Regions from separate parts of the Homo sapiens genome. Here regions 2, 3, 4, 5, 6 and 7 are each linked to region 1. The links are contacts of gene promoters, found by promoter capture Hi-C in blood cells and fetal thymus (Javierre and others, 2016). All regions are on one chromosome and are shown on one strand. The core of a region is centred on a gene start or on the middle of the fragment in contact, and the rest is flanking DNA. Distances in the headings are between cores, read along the strand shown. Region 1 holds the start of RMDN1 (regulator of microtubule dynamics 1). Region 2 has its middle 51 kb from the start of CA13. Region 3 overlaps E2F5 (E2F transcription factor 5). Region 4 overlaps CA3-AS1 (CA3 antisense RNA 1). Region 5 overlaps LOC105375933 (a long non-coding RNA gene). Region 6 overlaps E2F5 (E2F transcription factor 5). Region 7 overlaps LOC124901969 (a long non-coding RNA gene).

What was found. The method cuts DNA at HindIII sites, captures the fragments that hold promoters and counts their contacts. A CHiCAGO score of 5 or more calls a contact.
Region 2: a fragment that was not itself captured here is called in contact with the fragment with the promoter of RMDN1 in region 1 in 2 of 17 cell types (M0 macrophages and naive B cells); the score reaches 7.4 in M0 macrophages.
Region 3: a fragment that was not itself captured here is called in contact with the fragment with the promoter of RMDN1 in region 1 in 4 of 17 cell types (neutrophils, naive CD8 T cells, naive CD4 T cells and 1 more); the score reaches 8.2 in neutrophils.
Region 4: a fragment that was not itself captured here is called in contact with the fragment with the promoter of RMDN1 in region 1 in 2 of 17 cell types (total B cells and naive B cells); the score reaches 8.6 in total B cells.
Region 5: a contact is called between a fragment that was not itself captured here and the fragment with the promoter of RMDN1 in region 1, in 1 of 17 cell types (total B cells). The highest score is 5.9, in total B cells.
Region 6: a contact is called between a fragment that was not itself captured here and the fragment with the promoter of RMDN1 in region 1, in 2 of 17 cell types (total B cells and naive B cells). The highest score is 9.2, in total B cells.
Region 7: a contact is called between a fragment that was not itself captured here and the fragment with the promoter of RMDN1 in region 1, in 4 of 17 cell types (neutrophils, total B cells, non-activated CD4 T cells and 1 more). The highest score is 10.7, in neutrophils.

The regions. Positions count from the first base shown.
Region 1 is chr8:86,507,181-86,510,213 of GRCh38, forward strand. It overlaps RMDN1 (regulator of microtubule dynamics 1), which reads right to left and starts at 1,506. Exons shown (of 10, transcript NM_016033.3): 1 at 1,312-1,506. The coding sequence starts at 1,440. RefSeq lists an enhancer at 1,251-1,420. The HindIII fragment of the contact is 14,106 bases long and covers 50-3,033 here.
Region 2 is chr8:85,295,095-85,298,396 of GRCh38, forward strand. No RefSeq gene overlaps it. Among named protein-coding and RNA genes, the nearest start is that of CA13, 51 kb to the left of the region's middle. The HindIII fragment of the contact is 2,750 bases long and covers 430-3,179 here.
Region 3 is chr8:85,211,090-85,214,171 of GRCh38, forward strand. E2F5 (E2F transcription factor 5) reads left to right here. Exons shown (of 8, transcript NM_001951.4): 7 at 1,068-1,115; 8 at 2,664-3,082. The coding sequence ends at 2,773. RBIS (ribosomal biogenesis factor) reads right to left here. Exons shown (of 4, transcript NM_001099673.3): 4 at 2,959-3,082. Among named protein-coding and RNA genes, the nearest start is that of RBIS, 7.7 kb to the right of the region's middle. The HindIII fragment of the contact is 4,250 bases long and covers 1-3,082 here.
Region 4 is chr8:85,455,517-85,458,845 of GRCh38, forward strand. The region is part of intron 2 of CA3-AS1 (CA3 antisense RNA 1); the gene reads right to left. Among named protein-coding and RNA genes, the nearest start is that of CA2, 6.8 kb to the right of the region's middle. The HindIII fragment of the contact is 4,794 bases long and covers 1-3,329 here.
Region 5 is chr8:85,102,087-85,104,995 of GRCh38, forward strand. All of the region lies in intron 1 of LOC105375933 (a long non-coding RNA gene), which reads right to left. Among named protein-coding and RNA genes, the nearest start is that of LRRCC1, 3.7 kb to the right of the region's middle. The HindIII fragment of the contact is 160 bases long and covers 1,441-1,600 here.
Region 6 is chr8:85,189,891-85,193,150 of GRCh38, forward strand. The region is part of intron 1 of E2F5 (E2F transcription factor 5); the gene reads left to right. Among named protein-coding and RNA genes, the nearest start is that of E2F5, 14 kb to the left of the region's middle. RefSeq lists an enhancer at 1-59. The HindIII fragment of the contact is 939 bases long and covers 1,017-1,955 here.
Region 7 is chr8:85,233,290-85,236,282 of GRCh38, forward strand. All of the region lies in intron 3 of LOC124901969 (a long non-coding RNA gene), which reads left to right. All of the region lies in intron 1 of LOC105375936 (a long non-coding RNA gene), which reads right to left. Among named protein-coding and RNA genes, the nearest start is that of CA13, 11 kb to the right of the region's middle. The HindIII fragment of the contact is 1,402 bases long and covers 943-2,344 here.

The DNA of each region.
Region 1 (3,033 bases), core at 256-2,755:
ATTACATGAATTTTCTCCCACCCCCAAAGCAATCGATCATAATACTGGAAGCTTAAAAATTACTTCATCAAAATCTTTAGTAAAACTATCTCAAAGCGTATCTTATTGAGAAAAAGATATCCCCTGGAGTCGCCGCTCATCTAAAAATCACACTCCTGCTGGAAAGGAAGAGCTACAACTTATTTGCTACAACTTATTTGCAAATGCATGGATATTGCAAATTGTATGAAGTAAAATATGAGACACCAACACATAATAAAAATGAATCTTACAGACAAGATTATCATATATAGTAATTACTACATATAAAAATGTACATGGCTAACTTTTAAATTTTTTTGTAGAGACAGGGTCTCACTGTGTTGCCCAGGCTGGTTTCAAACCCCTGGACTCAAGCAATCCTTCCGCCTCGGCTTCCCAAAGTGCTGGGATTACAGGCTGAGCCAAGGGGCCAGGCCTAAAATGGGACTTCAAACTCATCATTGTTCCAATTTGAAAACTTACGGCTAACTAGTTTCATACTTAGAACTCCTCCCATCTCTCTGCCTATATTATCTATAACCTCCCCATTTGGTTATAAACTTCCAAGGAAGGGGAATATGCCAAATTTTAACCACCCCTCCCCACCATCAGTCCCATAATAATTCTGAAAGATTTTAACTGAGCAGTTAAAAATTTGAGTTTAAAATAATGAAACCCCTAGTTCATGTGAAATATATCATATGCATTAATGCCATTCCAATTCCCTGACAAGAATAAACAGAGGCCCACGAGCAGTCTAATAGAAATACCAGAACTGAGACTACAACATGCCGACAACCTTCATTGACGTTATGCAGATACAACGGGCAACTGAGAAATAAACATTTTTAAACAAAAACCTAAACAGTATGAAATCTCTGCTTCTGAGTCGTAGAACTTTTTAAATCACACACCACACTTTTCAAAGTCTGAAAGGGGCAGCCTCAAGCGCTGTTGTATCTGTCATCGCCTACAGGGAGAATAATTTCACAGCGGTCAAGGTTCTTTCCCGTCCTGTTTTACATTTCGCACAAGAAGGGCGGGTAGCAGGCAGCTTCTGGGGCGCGTGGGGGCAAACCCCACTCCTTCTCTGACAGCCCCAGTTAAGGATAGTGGAGGTTTGCAAAATGGAAGGGACCTGTCCGGGCGTTCCAGGCACAGTGGCCCCGAGTTCTTTCCTCGGTTCACCACATTCCTTAGGCAGCGCGGGGCCGCCACCACTTAAGTTAAGGGGGAGCCGGAACCCACTGAGTAGGAAGTGAGGAGCGGGAGCCAGGACCACGGGGGTACCTCGAAGCCGCGGAATCGACAGGGGCCGCAATGCCCGCGGCTGCCCGAAGTCCCCGCAGGGAGACGAGACCCCGGGGCGGCTCCACGTCGGAAAGGCAGAAGGCGCCACAGTCGAGCAGCCAGCGCCATGACCTGCAACTTGCGGGCTGACCCTGCACTACTTCAGGCAGCTACGGAGGCGGGCGGGGCTAAAGGAGATTCAATCCTTCCGGAAAGAACCGCGCCCGCCCGCCTCCTGCACAGCACCTCTTCCGCCTCCTGCCCAGCACCTCTTCCGCCCCCATGGTTTCCGGTGCACGGGCTTAGGGGGTGGGAAATACCCCGATTGGGTGGGACTTAATGGACTTTCCGCGCCTGCGTCCAGGACTGAGGCCGTGAGAGCGCTCTCTTCAGGCGCTCTGACTTGTTTCTGCTCCATCTCTCTAGGGGGTCTTTCATGGTTTGGGCACAAGGATTCGTCGCCAGAATAGAACTGAAAGCTCGGAAATAGACCCGAGAATACAAGTATGCCAGAAAAAAAATTGTCATTTTAATTATCTGCTGCCTTCAAAAGTAGATTGAATCTTGGTACTAGTGGGTCTTTTTTGGAAGTAAATAATTGGAAGAATTATGTTGCCCAACATGAAGAAGGGAAAGTCTCAGTCTCTTCGACTGAGCGACTCAAGGGGGTAGATTCAAGAGAGAGTCCAGAGCAAAGAAACAAAAAATGCAAAGCGTTTTGGGAAGAGGAACTAGCGGGAGGAGGCCTCTGGAAAGGATACTGATGCCCTTGAATGCTAGGGCATGTGTAGTAAAAAACAGAAACAAAAACAAACCCTGGTCTCCCCTAAAATTCTTCAATAAGATGTTTTACTTACTCGAGCAAAGTATTTTATTTTACTCGAGTAAAATAAAATTTCTTGCTCGAGTGGAATTCTTTTGTGGGAAAATGAAGAAATTTTGGATCCTACTTGAGGCCTGATCAGGGTGGGTGGAAACACAGACTGCAAAGGGAGTACCTACTATATGGGTTTAACGAAAAATCTTATGGGTAATAAGGGAGGCGAGTCATGGTTTTAAAAAATTAGGTTGCATTTCTATGGTACTTTTAATACTGTATAGGGAATTAATACATAGTCGTATTGATCTTCCGAACTACCTTGTGAAGTAAGTGGTATCCCAGGTTTACAAATGAAAAAACTGTAACTCAAAGAGATGTATTAACCTAACCAAGGATATGTTAGAAGACAGGAATCCATGTCTTTCTACTCTGAGTCCAGTGCTCCTTCTACTATATGATTGCTACCTCCACTAGTCCCATTAAATCAGCTGTATTTCTTTAGGATTATGTCTTTAAAGTCTATCTTTAAAAATATATAGATCTCCTTCCCAACTTCTGAAACCTAGCTGTTTTTTCCCAAAGACAGAATCACTTTTATTTTATGCATTTCTACTGGCAGCTACCCCCTCAACATTGCTAAATGTTTATGCCACTGGATACCATGATAACAGTGAAATTAAGTTTCTGATATCTCTGCTAGAGTGAATTTGTAATTAAGTTTTTAGCTTTGAAAAAAAAATTAGATCCTAAGAAAAGTTGCAGGAACTCCCATATATTCTTCAGCTAGATTCAGCCATTGTTACCTTTTTCTCACATTTGCTTTATCTTTCTTTACATATCTTACCTATAATACACATATTATATTCCTAGTATTTTCTGTTGTAAGGCCTTTTGAGAGTAGA
Region 2 (3,302 bases), core at 555-3,054, 1.2 Mb before region 1:
TGCTCACTCATCACAAGAATTTGAAATTTCAGCTCCAAATATTCTTTTATGTAAATGACTTTATTAAGAAAAAGCAAATCCAAATCTGGCTTCTCAACCAAGAAGAATAAGAGAGCTCTGTTTGTTTTATTTGTTATGAGAACACACTTCATTTGTATTCAAGCAAAGACTTTTTGTCATATATAATGAAAGTGTATGCTTGTTAAAAATCAGTAAGATTGAAAAGGCTAGGAGGACATATTCCATTTTAACCTTTTTTTAAGATAAAGATCTCAGCTATATCTATTTCAGTATGCTTGAATGAGTCTCTGTAGACAGTTCATATTTCTTGTGAATGTGTCAGCTTATCATTAGGTCAGGTAGCATCTTTCAAATGACTTGGTGAAACTTAATTACATACTCTTGTTCTGTAATAATTTCATGTAGGTAAGCTTACATATGAAACACTTTGTAACTAAGTTGTAAATCAAAACCAAAATTTATCTATGCTTTTTCACCCTTGCCCACTTCCATTCCTCTTCAGTGCTTGACAGGGAATCAGAGAAATAGTGAATGCCTAATCCTGAATTTAATTATTTACCAGACATGGGTATATGTCGTGTTTCTGTCTCTTCACTTGCCTTCTGAGGTGAATGTCCTGGTTTCCTCCCTCCTCACCAGCTGTCCCTTTCTGGTCTGTTCTCTCTCTGCTTCACTTACTTCCTGGGTAATTTTTTTTTCTAGCCCCATGACTTTAAATGACATTTAAAAACATGGTTGATGTATACATATATATATACACGTGTGTGTGTGTGTATATATATATCATATATATGTGTATATATATATTCAGATGTATATACTATATATCATATATATGTATATATATTCAAATATATATACTATATATATGTGTGTGTGTATATCAGCATATATCAGATATATATATCCATTCCCAATCTTTCCCCTGAACTTGGAACTCATATACCCAACTGCCTATAAGACTGCTCCATGGAATGTCTGACAGACATGTCAACATTAGCATGTCCAGATCCCTCAATTCTGCTTCCCATCCCCTTGTTGTGCCTGCAACCTTCCCTTCCCAAGGATGCTCCATCTCAGTAAATGGCACCACTAGCTACACAAAACTCACAGTCATCTCTGTACTCTCTTTCGCTCACACCCAGATTGAATCTGCTAGCAAGTCCTGTGGATGCTAGTCTTAAAATATGGCTCTCAGCTGGTCTCTCTGCTCCACTCTTTACCCCCTACATTGTTCACACAGCGGCCAGGGTGATTCTTTGAAAAAGCAGGTCAGAGTGCTTCACTCCATTTGAGCTCCACACTGCAGTGACTTCCTATGACTCAGAACAAAATCTGCTGTGCCTATGATGGCATATAGAGTACTCTGTGATCTGTGCTCTTGTGGCTCCTGCCCCCCTTCTCTCCTGCTGTCCCATCCACCACTCTTCAGTCTTGACACCCTCGTTTTTCCTCTGCCAGGCCTTTTCAAGTCTTTACAGTGGATATTCTCTTTGCCTGCAATGCTCTTCCTCAGATACTCATATGAATCACTTCCTCATTCATTCAAATGTCACCTCTTCAAAGAGGCCTTCCCTGACCACACTTTCTAAGTAGCAGCCCTGTTACTTTCTTTCCCCTTACTCTGATTTATTATTTTTCATGTCATTTACAACATCATTAACATAATATTATTTATTTTTAAACATCAGTCTGTCTTACAAGAATGTAACCTCCTTAAGGAAGTGTTTTTCATTTTGTTAATCAAGAGTTTTTAGCACCTAAACCATGTTTGACTCATGATAGACATCAATAGGTGTTTATTTAATTAACCAATGCATATTTTTTCATGCACATTTGAACTAACGTATACATTGACAATATAATCCTTAATTTTCTGGATAAGTTGTGTGCATCTATAGAAGACTGGGTGTAAATCTACAATTATATGTCAGCTTTTATGTTATATTGAGTTCATGGGTGTTCCTTAAAAAATGCTTAAAAGATATTGCAGTTTTTAAGACGTTAATGCACCTATGCACATGCATATATTCACAAACTGTTTTCAGTAGTACTTTGAAATCCTCCTAAAAGTTTTCATGCAATGTTCAACAATATAAATCTTACTTTCAAGTAGCTGATTCATAGTGAAGATCGTTACTCACAATATGATAGATGCCATATTTCCCAGTACTCAGGTAGTCTCTTCATTACGGGCACCTTGTCTTCCAGAACAACACGCTAGGGTGAGAAACAGAGAAAGGGAGTGAGGGAGAGGATGGAGAGAATAAAATAAAATGTTCTTGCAGTAACTGGTCAGTACTTGAAAGGGAGAATATGCAGTAAAGGAGAAGGAGTATTTAACAGGAATTAAAGAAGCCTTAAGAGAAAACAATTATGTGAGCATTCATCTCCCTAAAAAAGGAAAAAGGAAGGTGCAGAGACAGCAGTGACTTGTTCCTCATCTTAACCACCAGGTGGTGGTGTCGCATCAGAAAGGCTGATTTGCACTACCTGGTAGCGGATGAGGCAATGAGGCACCATGACCATTACTTTACTCCCACCTGCTAGTGCAAGATTTCAGCCTCTTCCGAAGTCTCCCTCTCCTAACTATTTCTAAATATTCCCAAAGAGTGTCTCATTTGTGGTAATGAGTGAGTCAAGTCAGTTTGCACTTGGTGTCTCATAATTTCTTCTCTTTTGTCCTCACCTCCCTCTCTCCTCCTCCTACCTTCCAGGTGCATCACTTGGCCACCATTCCCTGTGGGAGCAGCTCTGCCACCTGCTCTGGGCATTGTTAATCCTCTGGGTCCCAAACTGAATCCACTGGGCCTTGCTTTTGCTGCTGCTAGGGAAGAGAAGGCAGAGAAGTATTCATTAACAGTAAACATTAGTTGTGCTCAGCCCTCTGCAGTCTACCTCTGCTAGGCATAAAATAAGGAGAAGTGGCCTCGGGTGAAAGCAGGTTTGGATTAAAATTTCCTAATGCCAAGGCTGCTTGAACGTTGGATTACTCTTCACCTATACTTCTATAAATGTGTAATCTTGTTATAAGTTTTCCACAAGTGGCATAGAGTCTCTTCTGTGAACACTGTTCTTCTGTGCAGGTGGGATGGACTAGATCAAGGGTCTTCAGCAGTTTTGATCAGCCAGTGGATTTCAAAGACCCATTAATTAAAAGCTTTTTAATCAAAAGCTTTCTTACAAAGGGCCCCTGTGTTAATCTTACCTCCCTGACCTTCTCTTTGGCACGCTCCATTCTTGTCGAGATTCCCAGTGAGGTTGGGATTCTTTGAAGGTTA
Region 3 (3,082 bases), core at 529-3,028, 1.3 Mb before region 1:
GGCTAAAACAAGGGCCAAGTGTGGTGGGGCTCATGCCTGTAATCCCAACACTTTGGGAGGCCGAGGCAGGTACACTGCTTGAGCCCAGGAATTTGAGACCAACCTGGGCAATACAGTGAGACCCTATCTCTAAAAAAAAAAAAAAAAAAAAAAATTAAAAATTAGCTAGGCATTGTGACGTGTGCCTGTGGTCCCAGCTACTGGGGAGGGAGGCCAAAGTGGGAGGATTGCAAGCCTGGGAGGTCAAGGCTGCAGTGAGCCCTGACAGCACTTAATGTACTCCAGCCTGAGTGACAGAGCGAGATCCTGTCTCAAAATAAATAAATAAATAAAAAGGCTAAAACAGTGATTACAGTGAGATCAGGAAGAGAAATAACGAACAGATTTGAGAAACACTGTAGGCAAAATAACATTTGATGTGTGAGATCTGGAGATAAAGTTAACAGGAATGGAAAGTGATGTTGAAGTTTTAAGGTTGAATAACTGGGAGAATTATGAAACTACTGACTAAAACTGAGTCAGTTTTGGTAGAATGATGATGAGGTTTGTTGTTGTTTTTTTTTTTTTTTTTTTTTTTTTTTTGGCAGGGTCTCACTTTGTCAGCCAGGCTGGAATGCAGTGGCGCGATCTCAGCTCACTGCAGCCTCAAGTGATCCTCCCACCTCAGTCTCCCAAGTAGTTGGGACTATAGGCACGTGCCATGAATGTCTGGCTAATTTTTTTGTATTTTTTGTAAAGACGGATTTCACTATGTTGCCCAGGCTGGTCTGAACTCCTGAGCTCAAGCAATCCGTCCACCTCACTCAGCCTCCCAAAGTGCTAGAATTATAAGCATGAGCCACCATGCCTGGCAGATAATGAGTCTTTTGGTCTTCGTCTGGAGTTTGGAAGTTTAAAAGTAATGCCAGGCACAGAGTAAGCGCTCATGAAAACAACCTGTCCACAAAGTACTAGTACTTTAAATAAATGTGCATGTCAGTCAAGCTGCTGCTGTGACTACTTGTGTTTAAATATGAGTATCTTTTACTGTTAACAGAAATATAACAAAACTTTATTACTGTTTCCAGCAGGATCTATTAGTGGAGATATCATTGATGAGTTAATGTCTTCTGACGGTAAGTAGGTTAAAATTTTACTAACTCACTTATCAGTAATGCTTCTGTGGAATTTATAAGTGAAACATGATTTAAAAGAAATGAACATATATTTGCTACCTGCTTTACTATGAAGATTCATGAAAATTCTCCCTTAACACTTACAGTAAGTAATAGGCAACCTTCAGAATTTATTTTTCTTTGCTTGCATTTTGAGGGAAAGGAATCCATATGGGGATACTTCTCACCTTCATTGAAAATAAACTGTTAGCCCTTTCCACTCCTGAAGGATCTGGTCCAAGAAGAGTAAAATAACTTGTCTAAATCAAGCAACTGATCTGAACACCTGCCTTTGTAAATACCCCTACCCAGGCCAATTTCAAGCTGCCAATGGGAAGTCACTGAATTAGTATTAATATTAACCATGTTGTCATCTAACCTGAAAAATTATTAAATATCAGTTAGCTACAATATGCTAATTACTTTAATAATTTCTCTCCTTCTGTAAGTTCTTGGATCAGAGTCCTACTACCTAACAAATAAAGTAGAAACCTACGAAGTGGTAGCAGTTAAGTTAGCAAATGTTATAGTAACTAGAGATGTACTAAACATGTATGTAGAAGCAGAGAACATCAGCAAACTTTGTAAGTCCAGTTCATTCTTCTGTTTGCAAAGTGGAAAACAAAACACTTTCATTAGTGTTCTGTTTTTTTTTTTTAAGGCAGAGTCTCCCTCTGTCATCCAGGCTGGAGTGTCATCCAGGCTGGAGTGCAGTGGCATGATAGCTCACTGCAACCTCCACCTCCTAGGTTCAAATGATTCTCCTGGCTCAGCCTCCCGAGTAGCTGGGATGACAGGCACCTGCCACCACACCTGGCTACTTTTTGTATTTTTAGTAGAGACGGGGTTTCACCATGTTGGCCAGGCTGGTCTCAAACTCCTGGCCTCAGGTGATCCACCTGCCTCAGCCTCCCAAAGTGTTGGGATTACAGGCATGAGCCACTGCACCTGGCCTCGTTAGTGCCTTTTAGTTATATTACCTTAGTGATAAGTTCAACCAATAAAAAATTTAATTTCTAGGCCGGGCACAATGGCTCATGCCTGTAATCCCAGCACTTTGGGAGGCCAAGGCGGGCGAATCACGTCAGGAGATCGAGACCATCCTGGCTAACATGGTGAAACCCCATCTCTATAAAAAAATAAAAAAAATGAGCCGGTCGTGGTGGCAGGCACCTGTAGTCCCAGCTACTCGGGAGGCTGAGGCAGGAGAATGGCGTGAACCCGGGAGTCGGGAGCTTGCAGTGGGCCGAGATCGAGCTACTGCACTCCAGCCTGGACGAAACAGGGAGACTCCATCTTAAAAAAAAAAAAAAAAAAAGAAAAAATTAACTTCTGTTTCTCAATCTAATATCAATATTCAATGTACAAATTGTTACTAAATGAGAATATTTCAAAATACACATTACACAAGACTTTAATTTGGAATGATGTATTTGAGAGTATTTTGTTAAAGATCATTAACCGTATGTAGAAACCATCTTTAACACTAAATTTGTTTTTTGTTCGCAGTGTTTCCTCTCTTAAGGCTTTCTCCTACCCCGGCAGATGACTACAACTTTAATTTAGATGATAACGAAGGAGTTTGTGATCTGTTTGATGTCCAGATACTAAATTATTAGATTCCATGGAAACTTGGGACTGTTATCTACCTCTAACTGTGTAACATTTTAGACTTCTTAATAACCTAAATATTTAAAATAATGAATGTAACACCTTTTTTAGTTCACTGATTCTGAAGTGTTCTTCCCTAATACTTTCTTTACTTCACAAAACTTCAACCATAAAAACAAAGGGCTCTGATTGCTTTAGGGGATAAGTGATTTAATATCCACAAACGTCCCCACTCCCAAAAGTAACTATATTCTGGATTTCAACTTTTCTTCTAATTGTGAATCCTTCTGTTTTTTCTTCTTAAGGAGGAAAGTTAA
Region 4 (3,329 bases), core at 293-2,792, 1.1 Mb before region 1:
GCTCAAGAGAAATGATACTAGACATGGCTGTGAATACTGAAGGAAAGGGCTTATCGGGCACAAGCACAGTGCCCAACACACTGGGCATGAAATACATGTCGAACAGTGATATCAGTGCCATAGGAAAGAAGGAACAGATAGCAGGACTGAGGGTACAGGCGACCTGCAAAACACGGCTCTGGGTCACCTGGGTCTTTGGGTCAGCAATGGACTCCAGACGCTTTTTGAATGATGTAAGGCCCCTGGGACACAGTTCTTCCACATGTTCCTACAACACTGCATTTTTAAAAAATAAAGTATATATTCACAGTATTTTATTATTTTATATTTTATAAAATATAAACAAAGTAGAAAACTTTAGAGGCTAAAAAGTTAACTATAAGTAGAATTTCTCATATTTTCTTCCTGTCATGGAGCAGTCATCATGTGCACCCCTGAAGTGTGTGCAGGGTCATGTGGGGGGCAGCTGGTGCAGAGTTGAATGCTAACAAAACAGGCTACAGAGTCTCCTGCCAACTGGTCCGCTTTGTTCTGTCCTGTGGTTTCTCACCAGCCATGCTGGCTTACTATCTTATTCACTGACTCACTGAGTGGGGATTAACTGAGAGTGGAAGTAGAAGGAGATAATTCTATAACAAATCTTTTAAAAAAAGAGCCATTAAGACTGCTGTGAATTGTTTCATGGTTGAAGGAATGGAGGGATGGATGGATGGACAGATGATGCAATGAAACTCCTAAAATACTGAATGCCAGTCTAGGTTCATGAGCTACTGGGAGCTGTGGCCTCATCCTAGGAAGGTCAGAGACTGGCATGTCAATGAGTTCTTGGAGGAACAGCACACATTTTTGACTCATCCAGTTTTGATCTTGGGTTGGGTGGCTTTTTGAATTTGGTTGTAACTCTTTTGGCTTGGTCAAAGACAGCAAAAGATTTAAAAAAAAAGAAAGAAAAAAGCAATCACAATACATTGGTCAAGGGAAATATATTGTACTATTCCTTCTGTTTATTAAAATATTTAAATGACATTTATTCATTCAAGTGTGTATTATTTTCTAGCCATTGTACTCAGATGGAAGAGAGAGAGAAAGAGAGATAGAGACACTAATAGAAGCACAGAGCTAACGGCGTGGAATAATCTTTAAAAGTTTGTGTGAAATGGTAAAAACACATACAATCTAACGAGAAGCAAAAAAGTGCAAAGAAAATGCCATGGGGGTTCACAGCCAGTGGCAATTTTCTTAAGTTATATACTATTTCTATTTCCCCAAATCTTAACTTTGAGTAGTTCAAAACTTTTTAAGACATCTTTTCATGCATATAGATTTTCTTTCTTCTTTAGAATCAACCTGGATAAACACAAATGAGAAAACTACAGTTATAAAATGTAATTATCTTTGTTTCCTATAGCCTATCCACATATGTTATAGGATTATAAAGTGCTGATTTTCCACTTGTATACTCTTAAGACTGTTGTCAGTTAGTGACACCGGTGAATGAGGACTCCTGCCCTTGAACAGGAGGAAAAAATGTATTTGTAATGCCTACAATTCCCCTGGCATGGAAAATGTTAAATTGTTCTTATAACTAAAGGGAAGTCAGAAATTCCCCTATACAAAATGGTGATTTATAAGCAAAAGAGAAGTTTAATCATGTGGCGAAGCTAATATTAACTTGACCAAACCACTGTGATTTAGGTGCAAAGCCATCATTGGAAATGTGTTGAAGCAAAGTGAATAGACAATAATCTTAAGGTGTAGAGGCTGGATTTTGTTCTTTTCTACTCAATCCAATAAACAAAAGATGAGTGAGGGAGTATTATGGGCAAAGCCCTGTCCTAGGGCTCACATGTTGCTGGATACATATGCAACTCTAACACAGACCTTTTAGAAAAGCATTACCTTATGTATACTCTTAAGGTAGGGTTCCAAAATCTTGGTACTGTTAACGTTTTGGACAGAAAAATTCATTGTCGTCAGTGGGTGATTCTCTGCATTGTAGGATGTTTAGCAACATCCCCGGCCTCTATCCACTAGAGGCCAATGGCACACAGTCCCTCTCTCCCCCCGCTGTGAAAACCAAAAATGTGTCCAGACATTGTCAACATCCCCCTGGGGAGCAAAACTGCCTCCAGTGGAGAACCTATGTTCTAAGAAGAGGTGGACTTTTATTTCTATTAGATTGATTATAGTATCACATGTGGCAGCTGTTCTGGAACATAAAATACTTAAAATGTATACTTTGCATATTTTTAGTGTAATTGTCCCACTTAATATTTCTTCCAGTTCTGGTTGAAAGTGAAACTAGGTAATGAGCTTGCAATCTATCCACTACTCTTCAAAACTAAATAGATTCTATTACTTATAGAAGAGTTAAGTGTTACTAGTTATTATGAAAAAACAAAGACACATTCAGAAACTAAATTTTTAAAAGTCTGAAAAGCTATTTACTAAGGGAAGTTGAATTCAACTGTTTATTATATGTAAAGTTATTGTTATCCCCTGCTACCCCAAATAGTTAAAAGGAGTTTGGCAGGAAACCCTAAAAATGGCCAGCATTTTGATAGACATTCTATTTTATAGAGGAGTACTGCTCACATAATCTTAATGCATTGCTATTACATCACCACGAGGCAGTTGCCTTCATAAGCTCCTTGAAGGTATTTCGCTGGCCCTCGGGGAGACCACATAGCAGATGGCTAACAGTTCAAACTGTTTGGTTTCATACCTGGCCCCATCACTTCCTAGCTGAGTTACCTGGGGTAATCTGACCTACCTCTATGCCTCAATGACACCAGCTGTAGAGTAGGACTATGTGAAGCATTCAGAACTGTGTTGGTGCGTAATCAGTTTTCAATAAGTGTTAGCTATTTTTATAGATCAGGAACTCAAATAATGTCAATTAAATACATGTGAATTTTCATCCAAGTTAGAGAACTAGGAAAGTCAACCTGTTATTTGACAATGGAAAATATTATATGTAATGACAATCATACCATTTATTCAACAAAGAAAATATGCCAGGATTGTATCTAGCATCTTCCAGACATTCATTCTCATCACGTTGTGGAGCTAGAATTCCCTTCGCCCCGTTCCGCCCAGTCCCCATTTACAAATAAAGCATGTGAAGTTCAGAGGGATTGCTTAGTTTGCTGAAGGTGATGCAGCAAGTAAGTGTTCGAGTCAGAGTATGAACTCAGGTCTGTCTTATTACAAAGTCGATTCCCATTTCACAATTCTATGGTTCTTGACTACAATAACAATAATCCTAATGGAGCAGCTAACAACATACCAGGAATCATGTTCATTCACAGGACCAATTCACACAAACT
Region 5 (2,909 bases), core at 271-2,770, 1.4 Mb before region 1:
GTTGGCATTTTGATAGAAATTGCATTGAATTTGTAGATTGCTTTGGGCAGTATGGTCGTTTTGCCAAGGTTGATTCTTCTGATACATGAGCTTGAGATGGCTTTCTGTTTGACTGTGTCCTCTTCAATTTCCCTCATCAGTCTTTTGTAGCTTTTCTTGCAGAGAAAAGCTGCCTTTCACATCCTTGGCTAAATTTATTTCTAAGTCTTTTATTTTTATAGCTATTGCAAATGGGATTGCCTTCTTGGTTTCTTTATCAGCTTGTTCATTATTAGTGTATAGAAATGCTACATTTGTGTATGTTAAAATTCTATGCTGCAACTTTCCTGAATTTATTTATCAGATCTAAGAGTTTTTTGGTAGAGTCCTTAAGTTTCTCTAGATATAAGATTATGCCATTTGCAAACAGGGACGATTTGACTTTCTCTTTTCCAATTTCAATGTCTTTTTATTTCTTTATATTGCCGATTGGTCTAGCTATAATTTCCAGTAGTATGTCAAATAAGAGTGCTGAAAGTGGGCACACTTGTCTTGTTCCAGTTCTTAGAGGAAAGGATTTCAACTTTTTCCCATTCAGGATGATGTTAGCTGTGAGTTTTTCATATACGGCCTTTATTATATTGAAGTATGTTCTTTCTATGCCTAGTTTGTTGAGAGTTTGTATCATGAAAAGACTGAGTTTCATCTAATGCGTTTTCTGCATCTACTGAGATGATCTTATGGATTTTGTCCTTCATTCTGTTGATATGATGTATCACATGTGTTCATTTACATATATTGAACAATTCCTGCATCCCTGGAATAAATCCCACTTGATTATCTAGTATCTGTTTGATGTGCTGTTGGATTCAGTTTTCATTGAGGATTTCATTGAGGATTTTTGCATCTGTTCATCAGGGATGTTGGCCTGTAGTTTTCTTTATTTTTTGCATCCCTGTCTAGTTTTGGTATCAATGTAATGCTGGCCTTGTAGAATGAGTTAGGGAGAATTCCCTCATGTTCAATTTTTTTAATAGCTTGAAGAGAATTGGCTTTGGTTCTTCTTTGAAAAATTGGTGGGAGTCAGCATGAAGCCATCCAGTCCTGGAGTTTTTTTGTTGGAAGACTTTTTATTACTGATTCTAGCTACTAATTATTGGTCTGTTTAGGTTTTCTATTTCTTCCTGGTTTAACCTTGGTAGATTGTATGTATCAAGGAATTCACCCATTTCCTTTAGGGTTTCCAGTTCATTACCATACAGTTGTTCATAATTGTCTCTGACACTCTTTTGTATTTCTGTGGCATCAGTTTTAATGCCTTCTTCTTCATTTCTTATTTTGTTTACTGGGATCTTCTTTTTTTCTTGGTTAGTCTAGCTAGTGAATTTTGTTTGTTATCAATTTTGCTCATCATTTTTTTAAAAAAAACATTTTGTTTTGTTGATCCTTTGTATTTTTTTAAGCTTCTATTTCATTTAGCTCTGCTCTGATCTTCATGATTTCTTTTCTTCTGCTAATTTTGGGTTGGGATTCTTCTTGCTTTTCTAGTTCCTTGAGGTGTAACATTAAATTGTTTATTTGAAATCTTTCTACTTTTTTGATAAAGGCATTAATTACTATAAGCTTCCCAGTTAGCATTGCTTTTGCTGTACCCCAGAGGTGTTGGTATGTTGTGTTTTGGTTCTTACTGGTCTAAAAAATTTTTTGATTTCCTCTTTAATTTCTTTCTTGCTCAATAATTTGGGAGCATGTTCTTTAATTTCCATATATTTGTGCAGTTTCTAAAGTTCCTCTTGTAATTGATTTCTGGTTTTGTTTCAATGGAGTCTGAGAAGACACTTAGCATTATTTATTTTTAAAAATTTTGTTGAGCCATTTTTGGTGTCCTAACATGTAGTCTGTCCTGGAGAATGTTCCCTATGTTGATGAGAAAAATGTGCGTTCTCTAGCTCTTGGATGAAATTTTCTGCAAATTTCTGTTAGATCCATTGGGTATAAAGTGCAGTTTAAATTAAATGTTTTTTGTTTGTTTGTTTGTTTTCTGTCTAGATGATCTATGTAATACTGAGAATGGGGTGCTTAAATCCCCAACTATTATCCTGTTGGAATCTCTCTCTCTCTCTTTAAATCTAATAATATTTGCTTTATACATCTGGGTGCCTAGGTGTAGAGTGCATATATGTTTAGAATTGTTATATCCTCTTGCTGAATTGATTTTTTTTTTTTTTTTTTGAGACAGTCTAACTCTGTCGCCCAGGCTGGAGTGCAGTGGTGCGATCTCAGTTCACTGCAACCTCCACCTCCCGGGTTCAAGTGATTCTCCTGTCTCAGCCTCCTGAGTAGCTGGGATTACAGGCACACGCAGCCAGCCCCTGCTAATTTTTTGCATTTTAGTAGAGACGGGGTTTCACCGTGTTACCGAGGCTGGTCTCAAACTCCTGAGCTCAGGCAATTCACCCGCCTCGGCCTCCCAAAGTGCTAGGATTACAGGCATGAGCCACTGTGCCCGATCCCTTTATCATTACATAGTGACCTTTCTTGTCTCTTTTTTACTATTTTTAACTTACAGTCTATTGTATCTAATATTCATATAGCTATTCCTGCTGGCTTTTGGTTTCCATTTGCATAAAATATCTTTTTTCTTCCCTTTACTTTCAGTCCATATGTGTCTTTACAAGTGTGATGAGTTTCTTCTAAGCAGACTATTGTTGGGTCATTTTTTAATCCATTAATTCAAGCTATATCTTCCAGGTGGAAAATTTATTCCATTTGCATAAGGTCATGATTGATACGTGAGGGCTTATTCCTGTCATTTTATTAATCCATTTCTGGTTATTTTTGTGTATTCCTTGTTCCTTTCCTTCTCTATCATTGTTTATGATTGTGGTTTGGTGGTTTTCTGTAATGGTAACATTTGAGTCCTTTCTCTT
Region 6 (3,260 bases), core at 236-2,735, 1.3 Mb before region 1:
GCTTTTCACACTGTGAGGGGTGTTTGGAAGCACCTACCTGAGCCTTACGCTTCAGGGAGTAGCTGGGAGCTGACCTAGGAACTCCGGGACTCAAAAGCCAGATGTCATCAATATATATACAATTTAAGAATTTAAGGTTATATTATACCTCTACTTAGAACAACGTTCAGACACCTACAAGATCCTGCCTAGTCTGGCCCTCCTTCCTCTGCCACCTCGTCTATGCACTCCCTCTTAGATGACTCCAGTCTCACTGACTGTCTTTCAGCACTCTCACATGCCCTCTCCTCCTGCCTCAGGGCTGCTGCACAGGTGTTTCCTGCTGCCTGAAATGGACTTCTGCACGTGTGTGAAAACACACACACACACACCCCACCACCACCACTGCACCACACATACACAAACACACAACTGGCCACTTCTCCAAACCGTCTGGTCTTAGTTTTTTTTTTTCCTTCTTTTAGATGTTTTTGTAGGCAGAACAGTGGTCCCTCAAAGATGGTCATGTCCTAATTCCCAGGACCTGTGAATATGTTCAGTTACATAGGAAAGGGGAACTAAGGTCAAAGTTGCTAATCAGCTGATTTTAAGATGGGGAGATTTTTCCTTTTTTTTTTTTTTTTTTTTTTTTGAGATGGAGTCTCGCTCTGTCACCCAGGTTGAAGTGCAGTGGTGTGATCTCGGCTCACTGCAACCTCCGTCTCCCGGGTTCAAGCAATTCTCCTGTTTCAGCCTCCCTAGTAGCTGGGACTAAAGATGCCCACCACCATGCCCAGGTAATTTTTGTATTTTTAGTAGAGATGGAGTTTCACCGTATTGGTCAGGCTGGTCTCGAACTCCTGACCTCAAGTGATCTGCCCGCCTCAGCCTCCTAAAATGCTGGGATTACAGGCATGAGCCACCGTGCCCAGCCAAGATGTGGAGATTTTTCCTGGAATATCTGGCTGTGCCTGTTGTAATCAAAAAGTTCTTCAAAGTGGAAGAAGGAAGAAGAGAGTGAGAACCAAAGAGGTGGAAGCTTGAAAATGACCTTTCTGCTGTTGGAAGAAGGGGTCATGAGCCAAGAAGTGTGATAGCCTCTAGAAGCTGGAAAGGCAAAGAAATCGATTCTTCCTTAGAGCATCTAGAAGGAGCACAGCCTTATCAATATTTTGATTTTAGCTCAGTGAGATCCATTTTGGACTTCTGATCTATAGAACTATAAGATAATAAATTTGTGCTACTATTCAACCATTAAAAAAAAAGGAAATCCTGTCAGTTTTTGACGCCATAGAAGAACTTGGAGGATATTTTGCTAAGCAAATAAGCCAGGCACAGAAAGACACATGATCTCATATATAGAATCTAAAATAGTCAAATTCATAGAATCTAAGAATAGGATGGTGGTTACCAGGAGCTTGGGGAGATGTTGGTCAAAAGATACAAAATTTCAGTTAGACAAGAATAAATTTGAGAGATCTAATGCACATCGTGGTGACTATAGTTAATAACAATGTATTGCCTTCTTGAAAATTGCTAAGAAAATAGAATTTGAGTGTTCTTACCACACACAAAAAAAATGATCAGTATGTGAGATAAAGCATGTTAACTGGCTTGATTTAGCCATTCCACAATGTATACATATATCAAAACAACATTTTGTAAACAATATATATGATTTTTAATTACCAATTTTATTTAAAAATTTTGTTTTGTCTTAAACAACTACATTTCTGGTCATTTGTGACAGTTAGCAATGGAAACTAAGGGAATACAGTGTATACAGATGCTTGTCCTGACTCTCCTTAATCTGAAGTGACTGAAGTAGGTTCCTGCTTATTCTCAGCAGCCTGGGTTTTTGCCTTACTATCCTTTATCACAATATGGAATTATTTATTCCTTTGTTTGCCCATGTTTCGCTGTAGGCCAGGGACTGTCTTCTGTGTTACCAATGCTGACCCAGCCAGTCCATTATAAGCTTTCAACAAATAGCTATTAGTTTTGAGTTAAGTGAGAGGACATTCCTAGTCAGCAAGACAGTGTATGTCAGAGCCAAGAGGTAGAGAAACATGTGGGTACATTTGAGAGGCTATAAATCAGATGACTGTTGTGTGAAGAGAATATTGGATTGCAAGCAGATTTACAGGCTTAAACTAGGTTAGAGGCAGGGACAATAAGAAATGGAGAGATTCTGGTGACTTCACATTGTGGAAGTGACAGAACCTGGTGCTGAGTCTATGGGAATAGGAAAGTGGAAGTGACAGAACCTGGTGCGGAGTCTATGGGAATAGGAAAAATTATCAATGACTGCCATATTGCTGGCTTGGTAAATGGAGTAGATAGTGGTGATTTTCACTTAGAAGTTATCAAAAGGGAGAAAGAATTGAGAGGAATGGTAAATTCAGTTCTGGACATGAATAAGATGCCTGTGGGACATCCTAGGGTAGGTCTCTGGCAGCCTATCGGAATTATAGGTTTGGAACCCAAGATAAAGTTGAGGGCTTCCTGTTTGACTTGGATATGGTTGATTTATGAAGTTTATGTAAGGAAAATGGTTTTTAGCAAAAAGAGGAACAAGAATGGAACTCTGAAACACTAGTAGTTCAGTAGCAGAGGGCAGAAGAAAGGGAAAATAAGACAAGAGAAAAGTCTGAGGGTATGGTAACACCAAGACTAGAGAACGATGAGGGAGTAGCCAACCAGTGTCGAGTGCTACAGAGGATGCAACAGGACTTAATAGTGTCCACTGGTTTTAGTAACAGAGGTAATTAATGTTCCAGAAAACATTTTGGGCTTTTAGACAGTTTATACTAAAGAATTACTGGAGCAGAGCATAATAATAGTTTTTAAGTCCTTTACTTAATGTTGTCAAATTGCAAAAAGATGAAATTAGTTTTCAGTCCAGTAGCAGCATATGATTGTGACCAACCATCTCACAGCATCAGAAGTAGCATGGTATCTCTGAGTTTATGTCCTGACTTTACAATATTTAGTGCCCTTGGGCAAGTTACTCAGCCTTGGTTTCCTCTTTTCCAAAAATGGGACAATAATATTACCTACCACAGGTGGTTATGATTAAAGAAGTTATCAAAATGAGTTTTTATTTTTAAAGCACTTAAACAGTATCTGGCACATAGTAAATGCTACATTGAAGTGTTTGTTGGGTAACTGACAGATACATAGAGAGATGGATACATACATGTATACATACATACATAAAATAAATGTTGGGTATTCTAATTTTTTTTATATTTTACAAATTTGAAAAGTAATGAATAGTA
Region 7 (2,993 bases), core at 394-2,893, 1.3 Mb before region 1:
GCATAATAGCCACTAGCCTCATATGGCTATTGAGCTCTTGTAATGTGGCTACCCTGAATTGAGATGTGCTGTCAGAATAAAATGTACACCAGATTTGGAACTCTTTGTAAGAACAAAGAAGGTAAAAGATAAATGATAGTATCAGTTAAGATCCAATCAGGAGACAAATCACACAGTAATTTGAACAGGGAAAGTTTACTGTAAAGAATTATTAAGTATAATGGGGCAACTATAAAGATGTAAAAGATAACTCTAAACAATATCCCGAGGCTAAGGAAGTTTCTAATGAGGGACAAACTTGGATGCCAGCCTCCGTTCCAAAGGGATTCAGATCACTGGAGAAGATACGGTTGCAACCCAGTGGATGACAGAGAAGTTTGCTGGGTTGTCCAGGTCTGAGCTGGTCCACAGTTACTAGACAAGCGAGAAACAGGGTACAGGTGGGCTAAGACTGGTGTGCAAGACTACAGGTATGCAGAGGGACTCAAAGCATTGGGAACAACTCTGGCTGACAGATGCATAGCCTAGAGTGGACAGTGTCCATGTCAGGAGGCCATGGGAAACACTCTTTGGGGTGCAGGCAGACTAGGGCTGGTGGGCAGGTATGCAGAGGGAGTTGGGGCATCTGCTTGCCAATAGGGTGGCATGAGGCCTGGAGTATGTGGGGTTTGTTTTGGGAGGGGCAGTGAGGTGGTCACTGGGTTAGGGCTAGGGTTGTCAGCTTACTGAGAGACTGCATACTCTTGAGTGTGCTGCTGGGCCGGAGTGCCTGGATGTCTCTATACACGGCCACATGTGGCTGCTGAAAGCAGCCCAGCAGGAACAAGAATAAAACAAAAAACACAGCATTCAGGAACCAGGAAGAGAAGTTCCTTTCTCCAGCAATGACCTTCTACTGAAGAAAGCTTAACATTATGCTTGCTGCAAAAAAGAAATGCTTAAAGCTTCATTATCACAGAGCTGGTAATGCAGGGTAAAATTAGACGTGAAAGACAATAAATTGATAACTGAAACACTCATTAATTTTTATTTATTTTATTTTTTTTGAGACAGAGTCTCACTCTGTCACCCAGGCTGGAGTGCAGTGGCATGATCTCAGCTCACTGCAACCTTCATCTCCCGGGTTCAAGCGATTCTCCTGCCTCAGCCTCCCGCGTAGCTGGGATTACAGGCACCCACCACCATGCCCAGCTAACTTTTTGTATTTTTAATAGAGACGGGGTTTCGCCATGTTGCCCAGGCTGGTTTCGAACTCCTGAGCTCAGGCAATCCGCCTGCCTCGGCCTCCCAAAGTGCTGGGATTTCAAGCATGAGTGCATTAATTTTTTTTTTTTTATTGACTAATGTTGAAATGATATTTTTGATGTATTAGGTTAAATAATATATATCATTAAGAATAATTTCACTTTCCTTTTTAGTTTTTAAAGTGTACCTAGTCAAAAATTTAAGTAACATATATGCTTAGCACTTGGACAGTTCTGGAATGGATGTCTAAGCTAGGTAGATTACTTCCATAAGAACTGATGGAAGGGCCTAGGAGGAGAGTGTAGAGAGAGGAGAGATTATAGGCCCCAAACCCCCAAATTTAAAGGTTGGTGTGATGATTAATTGTATGTGTCAATTTGGGCCATGAGGTGCTCGGATATTTGGTAGAACAGTATTCTGGATGTTTACATGAGGGTGTTTTTGGAGGACATTAACATTTCAACCAGTAGATGGACTAAGGCGGACTGCCTCCCTAAGGAGCTGGGCCTTATCTAATCAGTGAAAGCCTGAATAGAAAAAAAAAAAAAGCTGACCCTCTTCCAAGTAAGGGAAACTTCCTTCTGCCTGATTGTCTTTGGGATAGGGCATCGGCTTTTTCCTACTCTAGGATTCAAACTGAAACAATGGCTTTACCTGGGGTCTTGAGCCTGCTGGGCTCTGGACTGAAACTACACCATCAGCTCTCCTGGGTCTCCAGCCTCCAGCTTGCCTACTCACTCTGAATATCTTGGGACTTGTCAGGCTTCATAATGAAGTGAGCCATTTTTAATAATAAATCTCATTTTCTCCCTCAATACGTATACATGGTTTTGGAGAACCCTAACTAATACATAATACAGTTGAGTATAGAAAGAAGAACCCAAGGAATTCCAGAGAGCATGGGTGGGTAGCAAATGGAAAATGTAAATTCAGGAAGAAAGTTTCCTGCTAATGAGAAGAAATTCCAGAACATGTTAGTATGCTGATGGCAATAATAAAGAAGAGTGAATGGAGTTGGCAATGGAGGCTGTAAGGGATAAAATATTATATGTTTGGCAAGAGTGCAAGGTTTTGCTAGGCACATAGGGCTAGTGCAGCAAGCTTTCAGTAGTGAAATGGTGGCAACCAGGTCAGAATTTCTTGGAATGAGGGTAAATCACACCTTCCTCGGTGGTGAGATGGGGATATGGGTACTGCTTTTCATAGAACAAACTGTCCGGCCAGGGGGATGGTGGCTCACACCTGTAACCACAGCACGTTTAGAGGCCAAGGCAGGTGGATCACCTGAGGTCAGGAGTTCAAAGCCAACGTGGTGAAACTCCGTCTCTACTAAAAATACAAAAATTAGCCAGGTGTGGTGGTCCATGCCTGTAGTCCCAGCTACTCAGGAGGCTGAAGCAGGAGAATCACTTGAACCCGGGAGGCGGGGGTTGTGGTGAGCTGAGATTGTGCCACTATACTCCAGATTGGGCAACAGAGTGAGACTCTGTCTCAAAAAAAAAAAAAAAAAAAAAAGGAACAAATCTTCCTTTTCTAGAGGACAGAAAGGAATAGATAAACCTTACAAGAGCTGATGACAGAATGCCGTCATGCCCCTAATATCGCTCTGTGGTTATATTTCAAAGAGTTGACAGCAATAGAATGACATTGACTTATTCATTCTAGGCCAAGGAACTACTAAATTCTTTAACAGCCGAATTACTTTGGCATGAATTATCTGGACTTTTCAACACTGATCTGATGTTTAT